6 separate regions of the Homo sapiens genome follow, and regions 2, 3, 4, 5 and 6 are each linked to region 1. The links are contacts of gene promoters, found by promoter capture Hi-C in blood cells and fetal thymus (Javierre and others, 2016). All regions are on one chromosome and are shown on one strand. Each heading gives the region's core, a stretch centred on a gene start or on the middle of the fragment in contact. The rest is flanking DNA. Distances are from core to core; before and after follow the strand shown. Region 1 holds the start of GJB2 (gap junction protein beta 2). Region 2 has its middle 13 kb from the start of LINC00367. Region 3 has its middle 8.7 kb from the start of XPO4. Region 4 overlaps XPO4 (exportin 4). Region 5 overlaps XPO4 (exportin 4). Region 6 overlaps XPO4 (exportin 4).

Region 1 (2,705 bases), core at 103-2,602:
ATCATTTCCACTTAACTTCGAACTGACCTGGGTAAAAACGTGAGCGCGAGGGGACCAGGCTGCACCTCTGACCTGGCTCCCCTCTGCAAAAATCGCGAAGTGGGTGCCCGAGGTGGGGCGGGGGTTGGGGGAGACCTCCCCGGGAGTCCCCACCCAGCCTGCTCTGCACATCTTAGTCCCTCATCCGCTTGCGCTGTGCAAATCTGTCTTCTGTCATTTGTATCGCAAGACATCAAAATCCCCAACCAAATGCAAATACTGAGACCTCATAATCTGAGACAAAGTTTCACGGTATCCAGAAAGCCCCCAGCAGGTGTGCAGTGCAGAGCCAGCCCCCCAGCGGTCTTCCGCAGAATCCTATCAGTTTCCCCCTTTCGTGCTGTGTGCATCGAGCAGGAAGGGGCTTGGCAGGTTTTACCTGCCCTCTTTCCTTTCTGAAAAGTCTGGGCCTCCTCACCCCGAAAGGAGTCACCTCCTTGCAGTTCCCCAGTTGCGAAAAGAGGAGGAAGTTGGCTGGGCCGGGGGCCGCGGGGGGCACCCTCCGCAGATGGCGGGACCCCCCTGCCGGCCATGGCAAAAACGAGGCTTGTCTCTCCCACCGCCCCCAACCTTAGTCCTTGGCACATTGTTGAAAGTAATTGAATAAAATCGGAAATTCGAGAAGGCGTTCGTTCGGATTGGTGAGATTTTGAGGGGAGAAAGAAGCGGGGACTTCGCCGGCACCAGCGGCGCCCCCTCCTCGGCCACCGTTAACCCCCATTCCAGAGGGCACTGCCCCGCCACCCAGCCTAGGTCCCCCTGCGAGAGCCTCGCGGGCCCGCGCAGCCTCCGCGACTCGAACAGATCTTCAGTCCTTGGAGGAATGCCTGTTTCTCTAACAATAAAAAATTAAAGAAGCGCTCATAAATGCCAAGTCCTCTCGCACTATGCGGAGTACAGAGGACAACGACCACAGCCATCCCTGAACCCCGCCCACGGCACAGCGCCGGAGCCGGGGTCTGGGGCGCCGCTTCCTGGGGGGTCCCGACTCTCAGCCGCCCCCGCTTCACCCGGGCCGCCAAGGGGCTGGGGGAGGCGGCGCTCGGGGTAACCGGGGGAGACTCAGGGCGCTGGGGGCACTTGGGGAACTCATGGGGGCTCAAAGGAACTAGGAGATCGGGACCTCGAAGGGGACTTGGGGGGTTCGGGGCTTTCGGGGGCGGTCGGGGGTTCGCGGACCCGGGAAGCTCTGAGGACCCAGAGGCCGGGCGCGCTCCGCCCGCGGCGCCGCCCCCTCCGTAACTTTCCCAGTCTCCGAGGGAAGAGGCGGGGTGTGGGGTGCGGTTAAAAGGCGCCACGGCGGGAGACAGGTGTTGCGGCCCCGCAGCGCCCGCGCGCTCCTCTCCCCGACTCGGAGCCCCTCGGCGGCGCCCGGCCCAGGACCCGCCTAGGAGCGCAGGAGCCCCAGCGCAGAGACCCCAACGCCGAGACCCCCGCCCCGGCCCCGCCGCGCTTCCTCCCGACGCAGGTGAGCCCGCCGGCCCCGGACTGCCCGGCCAGGAACCTGGCGCGGGGAGGGACCGCGAGACCCAGAGCGGTTGCCCGGCCGCGTGGGTCTCGGGGAACCGGGGGGCTGGACCAACACACGTCCTTGGGCCGGGGGGCGGGGGCCGCCTTCTGGAGCGGGCGTTTCTGCGGCCGAGCTCCGGAGCTGGAATGGGGCGGCCGGGGAAGTGGACGCGATGGCACCGCCCGGGGTGCGAGTGGGGCCGGGCGCGCGCGGGAGGGGAAAAAGGCGCGGGCGAGCCGCCAGCGCGAGGTTTGTGGTGTCGCCGATGTCCCTTCGGGGTACTCTAGCGCAGCCGCCTGGCTACTTGACCCACTGCCACCAAACGTTTTAAATTCACCGAAAGCTTAGCTTCGAAGCAAAGCTCCGTTTCGCCGGTGAAGCAGGAAGCCTTCGCTGCAGGAACTGACCTTTACCTCTTGGAGCGGCTTCTGCAGAAAAATCCCCGGGCAGAGATTTGGGCGGAGTTTGCCTAGAACTAACGCGGAGCCAGCCGATCCCGGCCTACCCCGGGGCCAAGATTTCAGTGGCTTCCCTTTTTCCTAAACACTTCACGAGGGTCTGTTTCCGGGCTGTGCTCCCCGCCTAGAAGGAAAATTTTTAGGACCCTTGTTCGCGAAGAGGTGGTGTGCGGCTGAGACCCGCGTCCTCAGGACGGTTCCATCAGTGCCTCGATCCTGCCCCACTGGAGGAGGAAGGCAGCCCGAACAGCGCTCACCTAACTAACAGCTGCTGAGAGCTGGGTTCCGTGGCCATGCACCTGGGACTGCCTTGAGAAGCGTGGTACGGCCGTGTCCCCATGTGACCTTAGAGTCCCTTTCGAAACTGCTGTGCACAGTCGGTCACAATTTCAGACACTGGTGAGAAGGGTGGAGGAACCCTCTGGGGACAGCCAGGCAAGGTCGACCACCCATCACCTAAGGGTGGAGAAATTTAAGGGGTGAAGAGTCCCTTTTGCCTTTTCTGGATCCTGGTGATTCACCTAGTGTCTTCCCTAAGGAACTGAACCAACTCCTCCGCTGGCCTCTGGCAGCCCTCCAGGCGGTGCAGGATGGCGTGGGCCCGGTAGGAAGCTGCATGTAACCGCCCAGGGTCGGGAGGCCAGGAGGGCAGCTCCTCCTCTGACTTGAATATTGAAAACAACTTCGTCCTGCTTCTG
Region 2 (2,705 bases), core at 122-2,621, 740 kb before region 1:
AAAAATTAGCCGGGTGTGGTGGTGGGCGCCTGTAGTCCCAGCAACTCGGAGAGGCTGAGGCAGGAGAATGGCATGAACCTGGGAGGCGGAGCTTGCAGTGAGTCGAGATCACGCCACTGCACTCCAGCCTGGGCAACAGATCGAGACTCCGTCTCAAAAAAAAAAAAAAAAAGAAAATTTAGGACACTTTGAAAACACAGTGAACAGACACCTATAGTAATCATTTTCCCTGTCACTAAAACTCATAAAACAATGGCTTTGAATGGCTATATGATATTCCATTATGATGATATAGCCCAAATTAATTAACCATTTACTTGTTATTGGAAATTTAGGTTATTTCCTATTTTAAATAATTTAAAATGTAAATATACCTTGTAAATAACATCATATTGCATATCTTTATACATGATCTTTTTCTTTTCCTTGTATAAGCTTTATCATGAGTACATAATCTTTTTCTGCATCTTTAATTATATTCTTAAGAACATTTTTAATGCTCTTGTTATATATTTCCAAATTGATTTCCAGTGTATACTCCCAGGAGAGGGTTAATTTCATGGTTCCTCTTGTGAATGTTATCTTTATTTTATTCTTTAAATATTTCTTTTCTGTATTTTGAATAAATGTACAACAGAATGTTATGTGGATTTTCTTTTTTCCCATGTTCCAGAATTGCAGCTGAAACCAAAAGCCCTGGACAAAAAATGTGAAGTGTCTGGGAACCTTAGAGACCCCTCTGGGCTTTCCGAGAAAGGCAAGATCCGCAATCAGCTCTCCAGCCTTCTCACCTCCCCAGCCAACAGAAACTCTTCTGTCTCCTGGTTGGACTTGGGCTCAGCCTCAGCTGTTGATTAGGACAACTGTGTCCCCCAAGCAGGGGAAGAAACCTTGGAAGAGATGAAGAACAGGGAGTGAGTAAGAGCGTGTCAGTTGAGTGACCGTGAAGACAGTGGGAATGGAGGCAGCTTACCCATGTCGGGCAGATCCACTCCTCCCAGAACCCTCCCAAAAGCCCCTCCACATGCACCTATGGAAGTTCCAGTATTTGAGGGGTCGCCTCACATAGCCCATGTCAGTTAGCATTAGCCACAGAGGCAGGGACACTCACAAGAACCTTGCTGCCAGCTTTGCACAGGGAACTTACCATGAGGTGATGAAGTTTAAGCTCAGTGCCCTTCACCTGGATAATCTATGTTAATACTCAAAGGTGTCCAACATTTTTTTGAGACTAAGTCTTGCTCTGTCACCCAGGCTGGAGTGCAATGGTTGTGCGATCTCAGCTAACTGCAACCTCTGCCTCCCGGGCTCAAGCAATTCTCCTGCCTCAGCCTCCCAAGTAGCTGGGATTACAGGCACCCACCACCACGCCTGGGTAATTTTTTTTTTGTATTTTTAGTAGAAATAGGGTTTCACCATGTTGGCCAGGCTGGTTTCGAACTCCTAACCTCAAATGATCCTTCCGCCTCAGCCTCCCAAAATGCTGGGATTACAGGTGTGAGCCACCATGCCCGGCCTTTTTTTTTTTTTTTTTTTTTTTTTTTGAGACAAGGTATCACTCTGCTGCCCATGCTGTAGTGCAGTGATGCGATCATAGGTCAATGTGGCCTCCACCTCCTAGCCTCAAGTGATTCTCCTGCCTCGGCCTCCCAAAGTGCTGAAATTACAGGCATGAGCCACTGTACCTGGCTATTTTTTTCACTCTCTCTATTTTTTTTTAGACAAGAGTCTTGCTCTGTTGCCCAGGCTGGAGTGCAGTGGCACGATCTCGGCTCACCGCAAGCTCCTCATCCCAGGTTCACACCATTCTTCTGCCTCAGCCTCCTGAGTAGCTGGGACTACAGGTGCCCTCCACCACGCCCGGCTAATTTTTTGTATTTTTAGTAGAGACGGGGTTTCACCATGTTAGCCAGGATGGTCTCGATCTCCTGACCTCGTGATCCACCTGCCTCGGCCTCCCAAAGTGCTGGGATTACAGGTGTGAGCCACCACGCCCGGCCCTTTTTCACTCTCTTGCCTAGGCTGGAGTGTGGTGGCACAGTCATAGCTCACTGTAACCTCAAACTCCCAGGCTCAAGTGATCCTCTTGCCTCAGCCTCCCCAGTAGCTGGGGACTACAGGTGCATGCCATAAAGTCCAGCTAATTTTTTTTAGGTTTTGTAGAGACAGGCTCTTGCTACATTGCCTGGGCTGGCCTCCAACTCCTGGCCTCAAGTGATCCGCTTGCCTTCACCTCCCAAAGTGCTGAGATTATAGGCGTGAGCCACCACTCCTGAGCCCAACATTTTATACATATTTATAAGCTTCAAGTCTGGATCTTGGATGTGCAGTTGGCAGGCAGTCACATAAGACCTCTGTCTCCCATGCTCTTATTATCATTATTCAGGGCATACATGTGCATGTTTGTTACATGGATATAACGTGGAATGGTGAGGTTTGAGTTTCTAGTGCACCCATCACTAAAATAATGAATCTTCTATGCAATAGGTCATTTTTCAACATGAAATCCCTCCCATCCTCTCCCCCTTTGGAGTCCCCCAGTGCCTATTATTTCCCTTTCCATGGTTTTTTTTTTTCTTTCTCCAATACCAGAAATGTCAGGAAAGACGGAAAAGTGAAGCTGACACCTCCATCCCCTACTGCAGATGATAAGGCACTAGTGCAAATTGCATTGAAGGTTAAAGAATCTGCAACAAAATGTCTTC
Region 3 (2,705 bases), core at 76-2,575, 720 kb before region 1:
ACTACAGGTGCCTGCCACCACGCTCAGCTAATTTTTGTATTTTTAGTACAGACGGGGTTTCACCATTTTGGCCAGGCTGGTCTTGAACACCTGACCTCAAGTGATCTGCCCGCATCGGCCTCCCAAAGTGCTAGGATTATAGGCATGAGCCACTGCACTCAGCCTCTCCTTTCTTTCTTTCTTTTTTTTTTGAGACAGAGTCTCATTCTGTCTCCCAGGCTCCAGTACAGTGGCATGATCTTGGCTCACTGCAAGCTCTGCCTCCTGGGTTCACGCCATTCTCCTGCCTCAGCCTCCCGAGTAGCTGGGACTACAGGTGCCCAACACTGCACCTGGCTAATTTTTTTGTATTTTTAGTAGAGTCGGGGTTTCACCATGTTAGCCAGGATGGTCTCGATCTCCTGACCTCGTGAGCCAGCTGCCTTGGCCTCCCAAAGTGCTGGGATTACAGGCGTGAGCCACCAGGCCCAGCCTTCTTTTTTTTTTTTTTTTTTTTTTTTTTTGACACAAGGTCTTGCTGTGTCACTCAGGCTTGAGTACAGTAGCATGATCTCAGATCACTGCAACCTCTGCCTCCTGGGCTCAAGCGATTCTCCTGCCTCAGCCTCTTCAGTAGCTGGAACTACAGGCACACATCAGCATGCCTGGCTAAATTTTGTATTTTTTGTAGAGATGGGATTTCACCATGTTGCTCAGGCTGATCTCTAACTCCTGGGCTCAAGCAATCTTCTCACCTTGGCCTCCCAAACTGCTGGGATTACAGCTGTGCGCCACCATGCCTAGCGGGGTTCTCTCTTTTATTTTTATTTATTTATTTTTTTGAGATGGTGTCTCACTCTGTCACCCAGGCTGGAGTGCAATGTCGCAGTCTCGGCTCACTGTAACCTCTGCCTCCCGAGTCCAAGCGATTCTCCCACCTCAGCCTCCCGAGTAGCTGGGACTACAGGCACCTGCCACCACACCCAGCTAATTTTGTATTTTCGGTAGAAATGGGATTTGGCCACTATGTTGGTCAGGCTGGTCTCAAACTCCTGCCTCAGCCTACCAAAGTGCTCGGATTACGGACATGAGCCACCACGCCCACCCAGCCTATCTCTTTTTTATTCTTAATCTAGTTAAGTTTGTCAATTTTGTTGATCCTTTCAAAGAACAAATTCTTGGTTTTATTGATTCTCTCTATTGGTTCCCATTCTCGATTTCATTTATCTCTGCTTAATGTTTATTTTTTTCCTTCTGCTAGCTTTAGGTTTAGTTTGTTCTTCTTCTTCTAGTTCCTTAAGGTATAATGTTAGGTTGTTGACTTGACAACTTTCTTCTTTTTAAATGTGTTTGTTGTTGCTGTGGACCCTATCCCTGTTGGACTGAACAAAGGATGACGAACTTGGGAATAAAGATAAAGGCAAAAGAGTATATTTGGAAGAAGGGGTTGGGAGGAGGCGGTCCTTGCTTCTAGTGAACAAGGGCCCTGAGCTTTAGAGCCCTTCGCATTTTATTGAGTAAAGGACACAGGGAGGAGGCAGTGGTTGGTCAGCAGCTTGATTTACAGCTGGCTTGCAAGACTGCATTCTTCAAACAATAAGCTCTAGATGTCCCAGTAGATAACCTCAATGAGCACAGCACCAGGGAGTGATTGCCCTCAGCAAACCTTCTGGCGGTAGGCACAGTCGCTGAGTCTGCCCACATCCTGCATTCATGATAAACAGTTGGCTGTTTGATCATATAGCCTCCAGTGGAATGCTGAGTTGGTCACGATCCCTTTGGTCTTTTCGGCTCCCAACATTTATAAATAAATTTCCTCTTAGTATTGCTTTTGCTGCATCCCATAACTTTTGGTATGTTGTGTTTTTATTTTGATTTATCTCAGGATATTTTCTAATTTCCCTTGTGATTTCTTCTTTGACTCTTTGGTTGTTTAAAAGTGTGTCATTTGGGAGTCTCTCAGAGTCTATTCTTGTTTGGGGGCTGCCCAAGTTTTTTCTTTTTTTTTTTTTTTGAGATGGAGTCTTGCCCTGTTGCCCAGGCTAGAGTGCAGTGGTGCGATCTCAGCTCACTGCAACCTCTGCCTCCCGGGTTCAAGCGATTCTCCTGCCTCAGCCTCTGGAGTAGCTGGGACTACAGGCCCGCGCCAACGTGCCCAGCTAACTTTTTTTGTATTTTTAGTAGAGATGAGTTTTCACCATGTTGGCCAGGCTGGTCTCAAACTCCTGACCTCAAGTGATCTGCCCATCTCGGCCTCCCAAAGTGCTGGGATTACAGGTGTGAGCCACCATGCCCGGCCAGGGACTGCCCAATAAAAAAAAAATAAAAAATAAAAAAAAAGCAAAAAAAAGGGGAAAAAATAGAAAAAAAAGTTACAGTGTGTTGTTTAATTTCCACATATGTACTAATTTTCCATTTTCCTTATGCCATTAATTTCTAGTTTTATTTCACCATGATTAGAAAAGAAATTGTGTGATTTCAAATCCCATTTCCACCGGGTGCGGTGGCTCGCGCCTGTAATCCCAGCACTTTGGGAGGCAGAGGCAGGCAGATCACGAGGTCAGAGATCAAGACCATCCTGGCTAACATGGTGAAACCCCATCTCTACTAAAAATACAAAAAATTAACTGGACATGGTGGCGGGTGCCTGTAGGCCCAGCTACTCAGGAGGCTCAGGCAGGAGAATGGCGTGAACCTGGGAGGTGGAGCTTGTAGTAAGCCGAGAT
Region 4 (2,705 bases), core at 89-2,588, 670 kb before region 1:
TGTAATCGGCTTTAAAAATGCTGTGTTCTGTGTTTGCAAGGAACTAGCAGCAGTGGTGAAGGTGGCTCTGTCTCATTTAGGAGTTAGGTCTTAGCAGAGGAACAGGTTCAACAACTACCTTTTAAATTCTCACTGAAGCCATTTTAATTAATTTACTTATTTCAGTGGTCAGCTTTTATAGTTGTGTGGATTCGTTTCTGGCACTAAGAAGATTTAACATATACCTGTGGAGGATATTTAACTCAATGTTAAAGGAAGCAAAACTAAACGGCATAAAGAGTTTAAGGAAGCATTAATTCATCCTTACTGCCTTGAAATTGTTCAGCATTAATAGATTTAGAAAACCGTTGTGTTAAACTATTAACCTAAAATAATTTGAGTCTGGTTTTCATGGCATATGCCTTAACGACATTGACTAGGATTCCATCAGTGTTTCATCTGACTTTCTATTGGAATTCAGTGTCATTGTACACTAGTTGGGAAATAGTTGATCTAACTTACAAGTATTTTATTAGAGTGTATTTGTTTATACCATTCTTTCCTTTTTAGAATATGTATATTTTATGAAGTATTGTTGCTTTGTTATGATTGAGCTTGTTTTGGAATACTTTTGTTTTCCTGATAAAATTTTCTAAAGAGTAGTATTGCTAGTTCTGGCCATGCTTTTAAAATGAGTTTGGGTTTTGAGACACTGACTATTTAAAAGGTGGAGTGCATGTATTACAAGCATAATCATTAATGTACTGCAAAGCCCTGTGTTACATTAATGTTTACATCTAAACTTCACAGAAAATCTTTTCACTCCTTATTCAGTTGCCACCAGCACAGAAGGGTAAATTCCTCTAAGAAGACTTCTCATACAAGTGGCAGTCAATCGCAGTTCAGAATTTTCACATTCTTGTTTAGGGATTATGTGTCATTTTTATAGAAGGTCTGGGTAATATATTCTACTAAAGGGGAGACTTTCTTTGATGCTTCCCTTTTCTGGCCTCTTAAAATTCTTCCTTCTCACTTCTAACTTGAGTTTTATATGTTGCTCATTTTTCCTCATTTCTTTCTCTTCTTATCCTTTTGTTTTCATTCTAGTTTTTATTTTCTTTGCTCTTTTCTGTGTGTGTGTGTGGTGTATCTGTGCATGCATGTGGCATGCTTGTGCATTTTGTCAGAAGAGCACTTTTAGACTTCTTCACTTCAGAAGTCTTTGGCACTTAGTAATTTAAATTTTTTAGGATCAAATGTTCCTTTAAAAAAACAAGTGAGTTCTGTTCTTGTTAAAGAAATAATCAAGAACTGTGAGGGATTGGCTTACTTCTTCTGGAGCTAACTTTGTGGCATTCTTTTACTCTTTCTCAGGGAGAAATGGATTTCTTTCACTTCTGATCTCACAAGTGCCAAAACAAAACAAAATAATAAACCACCAAAAAGTCAGTTAAACTAGTAAACTTTTACACCTCTGGAAAATTGTTTCCTTAGTAGTGCTGTCAGTCACTGGGAATTAATAAATCATCTTCCATCTGAGACTTTTTGTCATTAGTTGGTGGGCATAGGTATCACTGAGTCAAAGAGTAGACTTGGAGCTTATATTGCCTGTGCTTTGGACAGAAATACTTAAGGCCAGAGAGTTGATTGTAGTAGCTGTATATCTGTGGCTTCACTACCGGGGTTTTTTCTTTTTTAAAAAAACTTTTTGGTCAGAATGTAGTGCTTTTCCTGTATTATTAACTTTAACTTTTGTCTTCATGTTTCTGTTTAGTTTCAGATGGCTGACAAAATTCAAATGAATTTTATTTACATAATTATTATTAAAGAAAGTTACTGTGGTAGCAGATGAAAGCATTTTGCTAAAGTGACCTAAAATAATTTATTCTCTGGACAGTGTCCTAGTCAGTGGCAGATCTTCCCAGAAGTAGTTTAGAAATTCTAGATGAGGCTGGGTGTGGTGGCTCACACCTGTAATCCCAGCACTTTGGGAGGCTGAGGTGGGTGGATCACTTGAGGTTGGGAGTTTGAGACCAACCTGACCAACATGGAAAAACCCTGTCTCTACTAAAAATACAAAATTAGCCGGTGTGGTGGCACATGCCTGTATTCCCAGCTACTCGGGAGGCTGAGGCAGGAGAATCACTTGAACCCGGGAGGCAGAGGTTGTGGTGAGCCGAGATTGCGCCATTGCATTCTAGTCTCAGTAACAAGAGCAAAACTCCATCTCAAAAAAAAAAAAAAAATGCTAGATGAATTGTGAGTTCTTCATGAAAACCCTGTAGTTTCAGGCATCTTTGTAACAGAGAGCGAAAGTAAAGCTCATATGTATTTGTGAAGTTCTAATTTCATACTGGTAGGCTTCGAGAGTACCTTCTAGCATCTCTTGCATATTTCTACTATGTATAAGTTAAATTTATGACAGCTAATAATGGTTTTTATGAGAAAGGGTAATTTATTAGTTTAGGAAAATTTCTTCTTTTAAATTAGGAATTTGGCTTTTTTTTTTTTTATTCCTCCATTCTTAGAGTCAGCTTCTTATGGGAGTAGTCATTTAGAGATCATCATTTAATACCATGCAGAGGTCTAAGAAAAAGAATTAAGAAACTTTTGTGTCTTGAAAATTTTGAATATTCATCTTCTATAACTGCCCCCTCACATCCAACACCCACCCACCTCCAAAGGGCAGAAAAAGGCTTGGATGTAAAAACAAATAGTTAGGAATG
Region 5 (2,705 bases), core at 121-2,620, 660 kb before region 1:
ATTCACTTGTCTACGGCAGCCCCTGGATGTGATAGCCAAGTTAATCTCTCTTATCATAAGTCTCATTGATGTTTGCATAGAAGAGCAGCTGGAAGTCTGCTTTATGTATGGCAACCTTTCATAAAGTTTATTCTTGGTAATAAAGCTCCTGGGGTAAGAGCCAGGCTATTATAAGAGACAATCCTCTCTCTGAACAAGAGTATTTTATTTTGTCAGCTGGAGTTAGTGTTTGAGTATCTTGGGCTTGTGACAGTAAGCTGGTGAGTAAGGCAAGCTATCTCTGAAGGGCATTTTTTCACTAGCTTGAAATTAATGGCTTTTGCTAGAAATAAATGAGAATGCTGGTCTAAGACTTTCAATGTGAAGATAAGAGTTACTTAAATTGTTAGCCAGTGAATTAACTTGTGAATTTTCAGTACTTCAATGAAAGAAGACAATTAGACTTTTTTTTATAACTTTGACACCTCATTGCATTGTCTTCTACTTGTTTGACATATTAAAATTGTCTTGTAGAAATTTATAAACAACCAAAAAATAGGGAACACATCATTTATTTTCCAACTTCTGTTATGTTAACATAGTGCTGGGCATAGAAGTAAACACTGATTCATTAATCCAAACAGCATTTACTGAACATTTACTATATTGCTTTAGTGATACAGCTTCAGTTATAGCTCTGTTTTTTAAGTGGTGTAACACATTTAGTAATTTTAATTTTGCAGAATGTAGATCATCATCAAGGAATAGAATAAAGCTGAAATAGGTGGTTGTCATTTTCTATGATAATGATAAAAAATACAGCTGCTACTTTACCTTCTTGTAACCTGGTGTAATTACATGGTATTTTTAAGCATTATGCAATTTGAGCCTTAGGACAATTATGCAAATTAGGTATGGCAGAGGGTGGTAGCCCTTACTGTAGATGAGAAAGCTGAGGTCAAGGTACATGAAGGGCTTTGACCACAGTTATTTGAAGAAGGAAATCTTGGACTGTTAGAGCCCAGATTTTCTAACTGATTCAAACAACAGGATTCTTGTATTGGACTCCTGAAAGAGTCCTGCAGAATGTTTTTATTTATCATTTATTTTAGATGTAATTTTAATAAATTTTATTTGGTTTCTAACCTGTGAGCAAATGAAAATGATCCATTTAGAACTACCTGTTAGTGGCAGTCAAATTGCCAGCAGCAGTGAATGATAGACAACAACAAAGGATGATTGAGAAAAGCTATGAAGCAGACATAAATCAACAAGCATTGGGATCTGGCACCACGTTGCCAACGGGTGGAAGGCCCCTTATGTTTTAGTAGCTTCCAAGTAGTCACTTAAGTATAATATCATATAATTGCCATAGAAATAATTCCTTAAGAAAAATTTATAGGACGTTTCATTAAAAATGTTTGCTTGCTGCATTTACAAAATTAACATATTAACTTAATTCTTCATGATCTTAGATAAGTGAAGTATTGTTGTATTAACCTCTTAGAAGTCTTAAGATTTGTATTTTATACTGGGCAAATTCCTGTGTATTTTAGTATGGCAGTCTTTTATCAATTAGTTAGTTAGTCAACTTTGATCCGAATTCACTGACATTAATTACTACAGCTTTTGTTTCCGGCTGTCTTAAGTATCAGAGCCACTGTCTCTGATATGGAAAAATATCTAGCTCTGACTTTGACAAAGGCCAGAGAGGCAGCACTTGAAGATACTGGTCAGTAGAGGGTGAGTTAGGGGGTAGTGCACTCGGAATGCCCATTGAGACCTAACAGTCTGAAGGAGGCAGATAAGAACATTCTTTAAGGGTAAGAAAAGCTGAAGCTGGTGATCTCCTTTAGGCAGATTTGATGCTTTAATTTTTTTTCTTTCCTCTCTCTTTCCTGGGAAGAAGCTGTCCTCTGTTCTCCCTTGGGAGTTTTATTTTTGGCTTGCTTCCCTAGCTATCTTCATTACAACCCACAATGTGAGAGTAACTTCATTTTAAGGGGATTTAATCCATAATTAAATATTGAAAATGAGCAAACATATTTAGAAGTGAGTCCTAGACATTTAGTGATATGTTTAATTCCCCTATGAATAGGGAGAAATACTTTGTTGATATGTGTTGAAGTACTTTGCTCTCTTAATGTATAATCAATGTTTAATTATTCATCATTCCCCAGGAGTCTCTATTCATTTGGCACCTTTGAGCCAGACTAGTGTAGTATGATTAATATTTATGATGGTAATCTCATATTCCTACAGGATTTCCAAATTAAGGAGAGCTTATACTATTTGGTATATTTTAATGATGAAAATATCCTATTGAATTTTAGTTCTTTGGAAGCTGATAATCGTAGGTACAGTTAAAGCCAGAATATTTGATTTCTTGCAATACCTCTAACAATGCTGTACAATAATTTATTTTTATGTATTTCTTAAGTCTTTAAGTGGTATATTTAAATAGAACACATTTGTTTTTAAATTTTTTTCTTTTTATTTCATAGGTATAAAGTGGAAAAGTAGAATGTAAAACTATATTTGGGTTTATATCAATGATATATAAAAATTTATATCTGTGCATCAAAAAATTGGAAAGCTATAAATGTTACAGTAATAACTCCTGGATGGTAGGATTGTAGACAATTTTATTTTCGTTGTGCTTTTCTACGATTTCTAGTTTTTCTAAGATAGAAGTATATTTTTGTAGGATGAAAAAATTATTTAAA
Region 6 (2,705 bases), core at 97-2,596, 600 kb before region 1:
GTCAGACTTTGATAAACGTTTGTTTAGAGATGTTAATTTATCTGTTTAGGTCTTAGTATTCTCATTAATTTATATATATATATAATTCATATGTATTAAGAATGATAACCCTTTGTCATATTGGTTGTTCTTTTTTAAACTACTTTCTTTTTTATGTAACATTTTAATTTCTGTATTTCTCGCATTCCTTTTAAGCTTAGAAATATTATACACACTTGAAATCAAATGGATATTTCTATAGAAATTGTTTAACTCATTATGGCTAGTATGCCAGTAGATTTTATATTTCAAAACATTGATTAAGCATTAGTTTTATTTCTAGACTGTCCCCTGCTCTTAACCTCCCCAATACTTCTGTATCAAGTACTCATATCCCCTAATAAAACTCAAAAGGATGACACAGGGCTGGGGTCTCAGATCTTTTTTTCACCCCTGGATGTGCTGTCTCCTCCATCCCCTCACCAGAGACCAGGCAGGACGAGGTCAGATTCTTTATTATTCACTCATTGATTTATTTAGCCTCTAGGGGTGAGTTTATTTTCATAAGGGTAGAATACACACTTGGAAGATTTATTGATGTTACCACCATAAGCCTGCATCCTTTTATTTTAATAGATGAAGTGTTTAGAGGACATGAGCCAGGTCAAGCAGCAAACAGATCTGTGTCAGCAGCGGATGTTGTGTTGTATGGAGTAAACCTAATTCTGCCCTTGATGTCACAGGATCTCTTGAAGGTAATTAATGAAATTGAATGTGAACATACCACTATGTGTAACTGAAGTTCAAAGATACTTTAGACAAGAATATATCTGTGATTTAATTTAGTAGTTGTATCTGCTAAGTGCACATGAAGATACAATTTTTGTATTTTCATTAACGGTTACTTGTGCATGCTTCTCAGTAACATGGGCCCTTACTTAGTCTCTGTTTCTGCCCCAAAGTCCTGCAGGCACCCATACATTAGTGACTCGTTTTGTCAGGGAGTGCTACAGAAAGGAGCCTGTCCTTTTAGAAAGTACATTCTGTTAGCAGTTTTGATTACCTCATAATTTGTCACTAAGGGAATAAAGTAAGTTAAAAGTTTCAGTGTTTTCCTCTGATACTTTCTGAACATCATTCTCAAGTTAAGGGATTGAGCAAAGGAAGGCATTTTCCAAGGGGCACCATGTAAAAATGGGATGGTATGCTTCCAAGACTGATGCTGTTTTAAAGTTTTTGCACATTCTGACTACATTATGCCTTGGTTTTGTCAGTTAATATTGAGGGTGTGGTGGCGGTGAGGCAACTTTTTTCTACCATCCGTAAGTACCACAGAGGGAGGTCTCTTGTCATGAGTTGTCATAGCAGGATAAGGGTGGGGATGAGGACATGGGTGGAAAGGAAAGGAGGAGTTTGTGTGTGTATGTGCACATGTGCATGCATGCATGCGTGTGCACACACACACGAGATAAAGACAAGGAGTAGGAGGAAGTAAGATAGTAGAGGCTGGGCCGGGCGCAGTGGCTCACGCTTGTAATCCCAGCACTTTTGGAGGCCGAGGTGGGTGGATCACGAAGTCAGGAGATCGAGACCATCCTGGCTAACATGGTGAAACCCCGCCTCTACTAAAAATACACACACACACACACAAAAAAAAAGCCGGGTGTGGTGGTGGGCGCCTGTAGTCCCAGCTACTCAGGAGGCTGAGGCAGGAGAATGGCGTGAACCCGGGAGGCGGAGCTTGCAGTGAGCCAAGATTGTGCCACTGCACTGCAGCCTAGGTGACAGAGCGAGACTCTGTCTCAAAAAAAAAAAAAAAAAGTAGAGGCTGAGAAGTGTCCAGAAGGTGAGTACATACGAGAAGAATGAGTCCTGTTTGATTGCCAGCATAGCAGGATCTAACCGTGTGCTTCCCCCTCCTTGAGAGCGTCTCTAACTATTGGAAACAATGTTGATGACCCATGGCATTCACACAGCAGCCAGCCAGCAGGATGAGGAAGTTTAGTCAACTCTCCATATTGATTTGCATTTAGGGTTTGTTTAAACAAATAAGCCATTAAACATTTAAGTGTGTATTTTTCTTAAGTGTGGTTAAACCAGATTACTTACTTTTACCTCAGTTCTCTAGGATAGTACAACTGGAAAAATGTTTTTGGAAGTGTAAAGACCGAATACTCTGCTCTGTGCATAGTCTTAACAATTTGTATTAACCTTCTTGAATTTTTTCAGCATGCTTGAATGGAAATACATTTACAAAAAGGTTTTACTCCTAAGTTATTTAATAATTTTAAATCTGGCTGCCTTGTTTACTTTTTCCGGGTAAACACAGAATATCAGGAATTGACCTTAGATTTTATTAACTATCTAGAAGATAATTGTTTTGACTGTCTGTTACTTTGTTTCATAGTAGTTACTAAAATATGCCCTTTATTTGTACCTGTTTTTACATTTAATTTGGTCTTCATGTTTTCTATATCTTGTACATGTTTTAAAGAAATCATTATATTTAGAAGCTTGTCAGTTACTTTATTTTATTGCATTGATGAAAATAGAAATTGGATACTAATGAGCATCCAAATAATTGAATATTTCTTTTTCAGTTTCCAACCCTTTGTAATCAGTACTACAAATTAATCACATTTATCTGTGAGATTTTTCCTGAAAAAATACCACAGCTTCCTGAGGATCTGTTTAAAAGTCTGATGTACTCCCTAGAATTAGGAATG

What was found. The method cuts DNA at HindIII sites, captures the fragments that hold promoters and counts their contacts. A CHiCAGO score of 5 or more calls a contact.
Region 2: a fragment that was not itself captured here is called in contact with the fragment with the promoter of GJB2 in region 1 in 4 of 17 cell types (endothelial precursors, M0 macrophages, megakaryocytes and 1 more); the score reaches 8.3 in endothelial precursors.
Region 3: a contact is called between a fragment that was not itself captured here and the fragment with the promoter of GJB2 in region 1, in 1 of 17 cell types (M2 macrophages). The highest score is 6.3, in M2 macrophages.
Region 4: a contact is called between a fragment that was not itself captured here and the fragment with the promoter of GJB2 in region 1, in 4 of 17 cell types (M2 macrophages, megakaryocytes, neutrophils and 1 more). The highest score is 6.3, in M2 macrophages.
Region 5: a fragment that was not itself captured here is called in contact with the fragment with the promoter of GJB2 in region 1 in 1 of 17 cell types (M2 macrophages); the score reaches 5.0 in M2 macrophages.
Region 6: a fragment that was not itself captured here is called in contact with the fragment with the promoter of GJB2 in region 1 in 3 of 17 cell types (M1 macrophages, total CD8 T cells and M0 macrophages); the score reaches 7.5 in M1 macrophages.

The regions. Positions count from the first base shown.
Region 1 is chr13:20,191,585-20,194,289 of GRCh38, reverse strand. GJB2 (gap junction protein beta 2) reads left to right here and starts at 1,352. Exons shown (of 2, transcript NM_004004.6): 1 at 1,352-1,507. The HindIII fragment of the contact is 5,188 bases long and covers 1-1,894 here.
Region 2 is chr13:20,935,113-20,937,817 of GRCh38, reverse strand. No RefSeq gene overlaps it. Among named protein-coding and RNA genes, the nearest start is that of LINC00367, 13 kb to the left of the region's middle. The HindIII fragment of the contact is 1,868 bases long and covers 438-2,305 here.
Region 3 is chr13:20,910,138-20,912,842 of GRCh38, reverse strand. No RefSeq gene overlaps it. Among named protein-coding and RNA genes, the nearest start is that of XPO4, 8.7 kb to the right of the region's middle. The HindIII fragment of the contact is 3,898 bases long and covers 1-2,705 here.
Region 4 is chr13:20,864,660-20,867,364 of GRCh38, reverse strand. All of the region lies in intron 2 of XPO4 (exportin 4), which reads left to right. Among named protein-coding and RNA genes, the nearest start is that of XPO4, 37 kb to the left of the region's middle. The HindIII fragment of the contact is 5,438 bases long and covers 1-2,705 here.
Region 5 is chr13:20,846,618-20,849,322 of GRCh38, reverse strand. All of the region lies in intron 4 of XPO4 (exportin 4), which reads left to right. Among named protein-coding and RNA genes, the nearest start is that of XPO4, 55 kb to the left of the region's middle. The HindIII fragment of the contact is 3,357 bases long and covers 1-2,705 here.
Region 6 is chr13:20,788,491-20,791,195 of GRCh38, reverse strand. It overlaps XPO4 (exportin 4), which reads left to right. Exons shown (of 23, transcript NM_022459.5): 19 at 616-734; 20 at 2,580-2,705. Among named protein-coding and RNA genes, the nearest start is that of EEF1AKMT1, 16 kb to the right of the region's middle. The HindIII fragment of the contact is 2,297 bases long and covers 198-2,494 here.